Linked DNA regions of Homo sapiens: all the other regions are linked to region 3. The links are contacts of gene promoters, found by promoter capture Hi-C in blood cells and fetal thymus (Javierre and others, 2016). All regions are on one chromosome and are shown on one strand. Each heading gives the region's core, a stretch centred on a gene start or on the middle of the fragment in contact. The rest is flanking DNA. Distances are from core to core; before and after follow the strand shown. Region 1 holds the start of OR8U1 (olfactory receptor family 8 subfamily U member 1). Region 2 holds the start of OR8U3 (olfactory receptor family 8 subfamily U member 3). Region 3 holds the start of OR5T2 (olfactory receptor family 5 subfamily T member 2). Region 4 holds the start of OR8I2 (olfactory receptor family 8 subfamily I member 2).

The links. Contacts are between HindIII fragments. The CHiCAGO score rates a contact against its expected background, and 5 or more counts as called.
Region 1: a contact is called between the fragment with the promoter of OR8U1 here and the fragment with the promoter of OR5T2 in region 3, in 6 of 17 cell types (neutrophils, naive CD8 T cells, activated CD4 T cells and 3 more). The highest score is 8.6, in neutrophils.
Region 2: the fragment with the promoter of OR8U3 here is called in contact with the fragment with the promoter of OR5T2 in region 3 in 8 of 17 cell types (neutrophils, monocytes, fetal thymus and 5 more); the score reaches 9.1 in neutrophils.
Region 4: a contact is called between the fragment with the promoter of OR8I2 here and the fragment with the promoter of OR5T2 in region 3, in 5 of 17 cell types (monocytes, non-activated CD4 T cells, neutrophils and 2 more). The highest score is 7.5, in monocytes.

Annotation. Positions count from the first base shown.
Region 1 is chr11:56,374,282-56,376,981 of GRCh38, forward strand. OR8U1 (olfactory receptor family 8 subfamily U member 1) reads left to right here and starts at 1,343. Exons shown (of 1, transcript NM_001005204.1): 1 at 1,343-2,272. The coding sequence starts at 1,343. The coding sequence ends at 2,272. The HindIII fragment of the contact is 6,958 bases long and covers 1-2,700 here.
Region 2 is chr11:56,416,861-56,419,560 of GRCh38, forward strand. It overlaps OR8U3 (olfactory receptor family 8 subfamily U member 3), which reads right to left and starts at 1,372. Exons shown (of 1, transcript NM_001004744.1): 1 at 398-1,372. The coding sequence starts at 1,372. The coding sequence ends at 398. The HindIII fragment of the contact is 8,358 bases long and covers 1-2,475 here.
Region 3 is chr11:56,232,865-56,235,564 of GRCh38, forward strand. OR5T2 (olfactory receptor family 5 subfamily T member 2) reads right to left here and starts at 1,391. Exons shown (of 2, transcript NM_001004746.4): 1 at 1,313-1,391; 2 at 1-400. The coding sequence starts at 198. The HindIII fragment of the contact is 5,726 bases long and covers 1-2,700 here.
Region 4 is chr11:56,091,962-56,094,661 of GRCh38, forward strand. It overlaps OR8I2 (olfactory receptor family 8 subfamily I member 2), which reads left to right and starts at 1,347. Exons shown (of 1, transcript NM_001003750.1): 1 at 1,347-2,279. The coding sequence starts at 1,347. The coding sequence ends at 2,279. The HindIII fragment of the contact is 14,451 bases long and covers 1-2,700 here.

The DNA.
Region 1 (2,700 bases), core at 93-2,592, 140 kb after region 3:
TAGTAGATCTTAAATCCACTTTTTAGGATCCCAAGAAGCATTGTTTGAATTAAATAGAATGGAACAGATTACGCTAGAAAACGAAAGAATATGTAATACAAGCGGATGTCAGGGAAGCAAAAGTATTATTCTCAATATATCTATTAGTTCCATGCCATCTTATAACAAGTATTTATTTCTATAGTTTGTCATAAAAAAGTTTGAGTCTGAAAGTTAGTCTTCTTGAGAAGGGTTTGGTCTGAGCAGTGCAAAGACCAAAAATTCTCTTTTTACTTACCTCCCTTTTCTCTTTTCTTTTTCCTATTTTAACTCAAAATTGACGTTCAGTTTTTAACATGCAATTAGAGATTTGGAATTTATGGGTTCCTATGTCCTTATCCATCAATTTCCATGTTGCTATAATTAGACATTAATGTTCCATCTGTATTAGGGTTTTAGGATATCTAGTATATACTTACATATTGCATATCTAATATGTATCTTATACATATAATAAATATAATTTATTTAGAATAAAATTAAGGTAAATAAGTATTTTTTGAAAGTTACTACTTACCACATTATGTTGCTCAATAAATATGTTTATTAATACAAAACACAAATAACTGAAATGGATTCTTTGATTAATTGAGCAGAAGTAAATACTCAAGAGCTATTAGTAAACTCTGAAGAACAGTGAAGAAACACAGGCTCTTATTTTATTTATATATTTATTTGCATAGTAATTTTCAAAGCGTGAAATTTATAAGTTTTTAAGGAAAGCTCTATTTTCCATTACTAGATATAATGGTGGGAGAGAGAAGAAAGAGGAGTTGAGAGACATGATATTTGATACTATTTGGGTATTCAATAATTCAATTTTAAAATTATCCAAAATGAATAAGAAAATGATGATACACAACATTAAATAGAGTAGGAAAACAAAAATTAATGCAAAAAATGTAATTAAATCAGTTTTTTAATAAAAGATAAAAAAGCAGACATAAACTGAATGTAAAGAAACATAAACTTCCAAATCTCTTAGAAAGCAAATATCAATTTTACTCTAATTTACAGGATAAGATTATGTGAGGATTCATTCCCTACATTCATGTAAGTTCATGCTTTAGATATAAAGATGTTTATACGGTGTTATATTCTTTTTGCTCTCCATCACATTTCCAGAATTCCAGTATGCTAACAATCATTATATTAGTTAAATAAATTAATAAATAAATCTAATTAATTAAACTCTTTACAATACAATAAATATAAAAACACCACATATAGGATTTACAGTATTAAAATATGACTTAGACTTAACTCTTTTCTCTACTTCCACATTTAGATGGCCAGAAAAGATATGGCTCACATCAATTGCACCCAGGCGACAGAGTTTATTCTTGTGGGCCTCACAGACCATCAGGAGTTGAAGATGCCCCTCTTTGTGCTATTCTTATCCATCTACCTCTTCACAGTGGTAGGCAACTTGGGTTTGATCCTACTCATTAGAGCGGATACAAGTCTCAACACACCAATGTACTTCTTTCTTAGCAACCTAGCTTTTGTGGATTTCTGTTACTCTTCTGTCATTACACCCAAAATGCTTGGGAATTTCTTGTACAAACAAAATGTTATATCCTTTGATGCATGTGCTACTCAACTGGGCTGCTTTCTCACCTTCATGATATCAGAATCCTTGCTACTGGCTTCCATGGCCTATGACCGATATGTGGCCATTTGTAACCCTCTATTGTATATGGTTGTAATGACTCCAGGAATCTGCATTCAACTTGTAGCAGTTCCTTATAGCTATAGCTTCCTAATGGCACTATTTCACACCATCCTCACCTTCCGCCTCTCCTATTGCCACTCCAACATTGTCAACCATTTCTATTGTGATGACATGCCTCTCCTCAGGCTAACTTGCTCAGACACTCGCTTCAAACAGCTCTGGATCTTTGCCTGTGCTGGTATCATGTTCATTTCCTCCCTTCTGATTGTCTTTGTCTCCTACATGTTCATCATTTCTGCCATCCTGAGGATGCATTCAGCTGAGGGAAGACAGAAGGCTTTCTCGACGTGTGGCTCTCACATGCTGGCAGTCACCATATTCTATGGGACCCTCATTTTTATGTACTTACAGCCTAGCTCTAGCCATGCCCTGGACACAGACAAGATGGCCTCTGTCTTCTACACAGTGATCATTCCCATGTTGAATCCCTTAATCTATAGCCTCCAGAATAAGGAGGTGAAAGAAGCTCTGAAGAAAATCATTATCAATAAAAACTAGAGTTTTGTGTTTATAAAATTAAGAAAGTAACTTGAGTAAGGAAAAATGGACTTCTTTCATGGTATGATTTTTTTCCCAGTATAAGTTATCAGGATCCTTGTTTCTCAATATGTGATGTATACATATATTTTCGCTGTGTAATACAATTTTCTAGAGAATTTCTCTTAGAACGTTAGGTATAAAAGTAACTATAAGAATTTACAACACTTCTCTTATTTTTCAAGTGGAAAATATATTAAAATTATTAATTTTCTTGCATAATATTTTATACCAATTTTCCTATTTCTCAAATGAAGAATGCATAAAAAGTCATCATCAAGATATATAATTAGTTATGTGCAGAGCACAGACAAAAGTTAACTCCTCTCCCCGTCCATCCCCAGTTCAGGATTCTGAAGCTGTATTTACAATATCCCACGTGAAAAATA
Region 2 (2,700 bases), core at 122-2,621, 180 kb after region 3:
AGCAATGAGTTAGGTCCTATTATTTCCCAGACTTGGAGACAAAGCCACACAAAATTTAGCTCAATTTTCCAAGGTTGCAGAGCTAATATGAAGGAAATAGTGTTCAAACTCAATCTTGTTTCAGCATCCCAAACTCTAACAAAAACATGCTGCTGCCTTTGCTTTAAATACACCTATGAGTGTTTGCATATATGAGTGTGTCTCTGTTTGTATTTGAACGTGGTTTCAGTGGTCTGCCAAGACTGTGATGGCCTGAATTGAATGCTTTAATTCGTACTGATTTTTCATGATCTGCCTGGTTCTTGCAGAAAATGTCAAGGTCCATTAAAGTAACAGCTACATTTTCAGTTCATTGGGAAATAATTACAAGAAAAAGTTTGATTTATTTCCTGCTTGTTTAATAAAGTTTTCTTATTTTTAAAAATGTTAATATCTGTAAGTTTTCACAACCTTTATCCAAGGCTTTCTTTGAGGCATCTTTCACTTCTTTGTTCCTTAGACTATAGATTAGGGGGTTTAACATGGGGATCACCACTGTGTAAAATACAGAAGCCATCTTGTCTGTGTCCAAGGAGTGATTTGATTTGGGCTGTAGGTACATAAAGATCAGTGTGCCATAGAAAATAGTGACAGTCACCATATGGGAGCCACAGGTGGAAATGGCTTTGTGTTGCCCCTGAGTAGAGCGGATCCTTAGGATAGCGGCAATAATAAAGATGTAGGAGGTGAGGACAATGGAAGAGGAAGAGATCATATCAAAGCCAGCAAAGGCAAATATCAGAATTTCCTTCATGTGTGTGTCTGAGCAGGACAGAGCTAAGAAGGGGAGGTCATCACAATAGAAATGGTTAATTAAGTTTGGGCCACAGTAAGTCAGACGGAAAGTGATAACGGTGTGGAAGAGGGCAACCAGGAAGCTGTATATATATGGAACTGCCACCAGTTGAATGCAGACTCTTCTTGACATCAGTGTTGAATAATGCAGGGGACTACAGATGGCGACATAGCAATCGTAGGCCATGGAGGCTAGAAGGAAACACTCAGTGATCATGAAGGTGAGAAAACAACCCAGTTGGGTTGCACAAGCATGGAAAGGAATGGTGTTGCGTTCCACAACAAAATTCACCATCATCTTCGGTGTAATAGCAGAGGAGTAACAAAGGTCAACAAAGGCCAGGTGGCTGAGGAAATAGTACATAGGTGTGTGGAGTCGAGTATCAATCTTGATTAAAGTAATCAACCCAAGATTGCCCAGCACTGTGACCAGATAGATAACTAAAAACACCCCAAAGCACGGGGCCTGAAGCTCTGGCCGGTTGGTAATTCCTTTCAGAATGAATACAGTGACATAAATGATATTAACTTCAGCCATTTATCCTAACAGGTTTTGTAGATTTTGTCGCAGTTGAAAAATAAAAAAGATACTTCTCATGTTCCCTGTCAGTGTTGGGTAAAGGTGATGATTGTTGTCTTCTTGCCTTGAATCATATCATCATGTGGGCAAAAACATACATCTTACCTCTCTAATGACAGAGGCCAATCTTGCCTGAGGGAGGGGAGTCTTTTACTTGCAGAATAGTAAATAGACCACCTTAAGAAATATTTTGCTTTGTAATTTTAGAAAATAAGAGAAGATGTTGGTTAAAATTATATAGTATGAAACCGCTTGTGACAACTGACACTAATATTTCAATGTTTTTGCTGCCATTAAAAATCTTATATATTTTCCATGCATATATAACAGAACAAAAATATTGAATTTATAGACGTGACCACATTTATATTTCCTTATTTTTCGGTTTTGTGCGTGCTTCCATAAAATATGTCAAAAATAGATCAAAATAATTTTAGAGCTCCTATGAACTATTCAATTTGCTATATTCCTTCCCACATTTATATAGAATAAGTAATTTATGCTGTAGAAATGGAAAGAAATTTGATCAGAAATATGAGAAAGGAAACATTCAGTTGTAAAAAGTTTTATGGAAACATATACTGGTGGGTGGAGTTTTTGATGCATCTTTTAGGATAATTATAATTATTTGTATTTCTACCAGCCCTGAAAAAAAGAGGATTCATCTTGTTAAGCCCAATATTAGCCTATTTAAACTTTAATTTGGTCCTGGCTTTATTTTTCAAAAAATAGAATCATGAAATATTAACTAGAAAATGCTTTGAGAGATCATCATATCTAACCACTTTGTCTTTCATATTCCATTGATTAGTACTATTATTATTTTATCTATTGCAATTGAGTGATGTCCTTATCAGATATTCTGAGTGCATTACATGAATTAAGATAGTCTCTTGCTTACCCTATGAGGAAGGCTCTCACCCATAACTCCTTATAAACATTGGAAAAATCCGACTTTCTGGTGATGGTCACAGAGTATTAGTGTGACTATGTATAACTGACAGCAGAGCCCATATTTCTAATCATCCTTATGCTGCCCAAGTGTAGTGGTTTGTTCCTTAAGCTTTAATCGCCGGGATGGATGGAAGAACGAGGCTAAAGTGTCAAACTAAATGTTTAAAGCTTACAGAAGACAAACATGAAAACTGTAGTTTTCCAAAGATTGCTAAGTTTTCATATACTAGGTCAAAGTAAAATAGAAGACTCCTAAAACATATATATATATATATATATATATATATATATATATATACACACACACACACACACACACACAGATGCATAGA
Region 3 (2,700 bases), core at 141-2,640:
AGAAGACAACATACTCAGAAAATAGTACATGGGTTTGTGGAGCTGGGAATCCCTAATGACCACTAAAATCAGTCCTAAATTTCCCATGAGAGTGAAGAGGTAGATTGCTAGAAACAGGAAGAAGAAGATAGTCTGCAGTTCAAGATTGTCTGTGAAGCCCTTCAGTACAAATAAGGTAACTTCAGTGACATTCTTCATGTTGAAATCTAGAACAAACTTGAAGATATGCATAAAGTTACAGTTCATATTATGACAAAAAGAATGAACAACACCATGACTCAAGGGGATGTTAACTGTGCTCTTGTATATACTGTACGACATATATTCAGCAGTGCATAATTCTCTAGTAGTGAATCAGAAGACAGTGACAAACTGGTCAGCCATGTGTTCATGCCACTCACTGCAGAATCAAATGGAAGAAATGGACGTTCATTAGTTGGCTGGACTTATTCTGTTTCTAAAATCATCAGGTCTACTGGTTAATTTACCACTGAATTGTATTAAGCTGTTTATATATTAAATAATATTAAAACACACAAAAATGAGTGGCTTAAACAATCTTTGGGCATCCAAATACACAAGAGACTGTATCAGGGGACAGAGCATTGGAATACAATACCAGAATTTTAGAACTTGTAGCAATTGTGCAAAATGATTTGCTATATCTACTTGTCTATAGAATGAGAACATTAATAGTTTGTTCACAAGATTGGAGTAAATATTGAAGGAAAATTGCATTAATAAAATATAATATGTAAAATAATTTTGATTATAGAATATGCTGAATTAAGTTGGTTCTACATTCTATCAAGATTAAATCCAATGAACAGTTATGATTTTTTTCATCTGCTCATTCAAATGTCTCTGAATTATTCTTTGGAGAATGAAGAAGTTTTGTGAATTACTTGATCATTTTATGCCAAAAATAAACATGCAAATTACCATGATTCCATTTTCTACATTACAATTGTCTTAATTTTGCTTTGTGCAAATAAGATACTTCAACCAAATTTCTTGTGAGACAGGCATTTCTACTAGATGCCAAAATAAGTTATATTGGGTAAAAATTAAGTTAATATTAGCACATAGTCAAAGATTCAGAGTTATAAAGAGAAAATCACTATGATTCTTGAAGATTTAATAATATAGAATCAACTTTTTAAATTAATGCAAATCTATTTTTATGAAACAAATTTTAATGGAAGGGAGAAAACTTTAAATATCGTGAATGTAATAACGAAACACTAAGTTTGCTAAATAACAGGCATTTATTTAGCACTTGCTGCAAGAACAGACATTTCTTGTACATTACCTTATTTCACCTTTATAGCAACTTTCATAGCTAACAATTTCCAGAGCCAAGATTCAATCCCAGGTTTCTCTCATTGTACATGAAATTTTTGCATTTTTTCATGGCCTCATAAATGGCTTCATTCTGCAACTGGAACACTCTTCCTCTTACCCCTCTGCTGACCTCAGGGAAATAAAGGTAAAGCAAAACATGATTCTCGATGTATTTGTATTTTTTAAGCCATTAAATCTAGAGAAACATAAAATAAGTAGCAATCTGAAGTGACTTCTAGATTATAAAGCCAGAAAATAAATTTAAAATAAGTATTGATTGTTTTCCTTATTACTTCAAAATACAAGACCCCAGATAAATGAATAAGTCAAATGTTTTTTTGCCCTTTGTTGATATTTATTGGTAAATTCATGACCTTTGAACTATCTTTATCTATAAGAAAAATACAAGCATATACTCTATTAGGAGCACTCTTATTTATCTCTATAAGTACAAATACAATATTTTCTATTTTTTATTGTTTTCTAGTAAGTGTTGGATTTTAATTCTTAGGCATAACTCTAAATAAATCATATTTTGATGAATACACTTGATTCACATATGTAATAGTCCAGAACTGAAGTGTTTAGTTCTTGGTGTTTAGCAGCTAAAAAGTTTAGTAAAAAAAAACATAGTTATTCTTGATATTGTAGGTTCTAGCTGCCGAAATATTCTTCAAATTATCTGAAATTTTCTCTTACCTGTGGAACAGCAAATGCAGATTTAGGTATTCTATGAATATGGCTAACTTAGATTGTTTATATCTTTGTAATTGACTGTTGATGAAATCCAAGGAGATGTCCCAAGGGGAATATGCCCCAATTATCTTCTGTTTCAAAATAGCACCATGATGATTTACTTAATAATAAAAAGTAAATGATTCCGGAATAAGGCACTGCATGCTCCTACTTATTGAATCAATAGAGTTCTTTGGCTTCTGTTTAAAATGTGTCAGATTTGAATTTCCCTGATGACTACTGATGTTGAACATCTTTTCATACATCTGAAGGCCATTTGTATGTCTTCTTTGGAAAAAAAATGTATTCAAGTCCTTTGCCAGTTTTAAAATAAGATTATTGTTATTGTGGCTATTGAATTTATATATTTTGATATTAATCCCCTATTAGATATATCATTTACAAATATTTTTTGTTTGGCTGATGGTTTTCTTCATTGTGCAGAAGATTTTGACTTTGACGTAGCCCTACTTGTCTAATTTTGGTTTTGTTACTTGGCTTTTTATGTCATTGCTTGTATTTTTATGTTACATCCAACAAGTTACTGCCAAGCTGAAGGTCCTAAAGTTTTTCCTTATGTTTTCTTCTAGAAATTGTAGTTTCAGGTTTTATGTTTAAATT
Region 4 (2,700 bases), core at 97-2,596, 140 kb before region 3:
GGAAATAGAGCTCTATACTAAATAACAACTTTTGTTATTTGATATTTAGCATTGTAGATGAGGCAAAAATAATGAACTTGAAAATAAGTGAAAGATTGCTGAAACATAGGATGTTTCCTCTGGGTGACTGAATCCCAGGTACATCTAATTTTCTCATCTGCTTTTTCCTAAAATTTGTGTGTCTGTCTGTCTGTGAGTATAGTTTGCATGTTTCTCACATTGGGAAACTTGTTATTTTTTTAATGTCTGCATCTTACATTAGGCTTTAAGAAAAATGCCCTTCATGACAGGCAAGACAAAATGCCTTCATTGAATAAATGCTTGTCAAGTAAATGAATGGATAAATAGGAACACTGTGACCATGGAACACATTAAATGATTAAGTACATGTGATATATAATAAGAATAATATGTTATATTATTATTATTGATAATAATTATTATCAAGTCCCATTTGGTTACTCAAGGAGAGTGCTAAATGTCTAAACAAAGGTGATTATTTAACTTTGCTTGGCGGGCTAGTTTCAAATGCATTTATTCGTCATATATTTATGTTAAGTTAATTAGGCAATAAAGTTCTTTAGTTTCTAGCATGCCCACCTTATAATTTAATTCTTATTTTTAAATGTAACAAATCAGGTTTGTTTTACTGTTTTTAACATTTATTTATATCATTGTCTTAAAAACTGCTGTTCAGCAATGAATTGGCTAGCACCTGATGTCATAGATTAATATATGCAATATATCTAGAAACAATCATGTTGTTTGAACAAACATACATGAAAGAATTTAAACTATGTTATAGATGAAGGCCCTCATTTGGTCTTATCTCACTGAATTTTTTATTAGATAAACTGCTCTATTCATTAGATACAATTCATTTTGTTAGATAACTTGCTATATTTATTAGATACAGATTGATTTCATTAGATAAGTTGCTATATTCATTAGATACAATTAATTTCATTTGATAATTTGCTATATTTGTTAGATACAATTGATTTCATTAGATAAATTGCCAGACCCAATGACAGACAGGGGTAGAGAATGGTACATCTTAGGAGGAATTTCTACACATCTTTCCAGACATGTATTTTTTAGTCTACACAATCGTGAATTTGAGTTTTTTTCTGTATTAATGTCTGTAAGTTTTCAGTTTTATAAAAAATAAAAATTATCCGTAAATCTCTAGCTAACTTCAGGTCATTAAATTTTACTTTCCATTTGTAAAACTTTCATGATTGGAGTCTAAGTCAAATTTGATTATAGGGCCTTTAGATTTGAATCCTTCTCTAACTTTCCTTATTGTTATTCAGCAGGTAAGTCAAAGGCCTGAGTTGATGTAAATGGCTGGCAACAATTTCACTGAGGTTACCGTCTTCATCCTCTCTGGATTTGCAAATCACCCTGAATTACAAGTCAGTCTTTTCTTGATGTTTCTCTTCATTTATCTATTCACTGTTTTGGGAAACCTGGGACTGATCACGTTAATCAGAATGGATTCTCAGCTTCACACCCCTATGTACTTTTTCCTGAGCAATTTAGCATTTATTGACATATTTTACTCCTCTACTGTAACACCTAAGGCATTGGTGAATTTCCAATCCAATCGGAGATCCATCTCCTTTGTTGGCTGCTTTGTTCAAATGTACTTTTTTGTTGGATTGGTGTGTTGTGAGTGTTTCCTTCTGGGATCAATGGCCTACAATCGCTACATAGCAATCTGCAATCCCTTACTGTATTCAGTAGTCATGTCCCAAAAAGTGTCCAACTGGCTGGGAGTAATGCCATATGTGATAGGCTTCACAAGCTCGCTGATATCTGTCTGGGTGATAAGCAGTTTGGCGTTCTGTGATTCCAGCATCAATCATTTTTTTTGTGACACCACAGCTCTTTTAGCACTCTCCTGTGTAGATACATTCGGCACAGAAATGGTGAGCTTTGTCTTAGCTGGATTCACTCTTCTTAGCTCTCTCCTTATCATCACAGTCACTTATATCATCATCATCTCAGCCATCCTGAGGATCCAGTCAGCAGCAGGCAGGCAGAAGGCCTTCTCCACCTGCGCATCCCACCTCATGGCTGTAACTATCTTTTATGGGTCTCTGATTTTCACCTATTTGCAACCTGATAACACATCATCGCTGACCCAGGCGCAGGTGGCATCTGTATTCTATACGATTGTCATTCCCATGCTGAATCCACTCATCTACAGTCTGAGGAACAAAGATGTGAAAAATGCTCTTCTGAGAGTCATACATAGAAAACTTTTTCCATGACAAATTTATGTATGTTACAATTAAAACAAAGGTGGATGGCTTCAGGAATTCAGTTATGCCAACAACTAGGAAAATAGTAGAGTAACCTCAAAAAGCATAACACAAACTAAATGAGAACTTAGAGTCTTGAAGTTTGTGAATTGAATTATTATTTCATTTGTTTATATGGACCACTAACTCACTGTATTTGGAGGTCAATTCGGCATATAAATTATTCAGACATAGACATGTACAAGGAAATAAGAGGCACCTGAACATGCATATATAAGCATGCCATCACACTGAAACATGTTTAAAATTATTACATTAAGAACATGCAATTTTTGTCATTCTGTGCCCAGCTTATATCACATAACTGGATTGTTTGTATTAGATTGTTGCAAAAGTAATTGTAGTTTTTTGTCATTAAAAAAGAAAACAG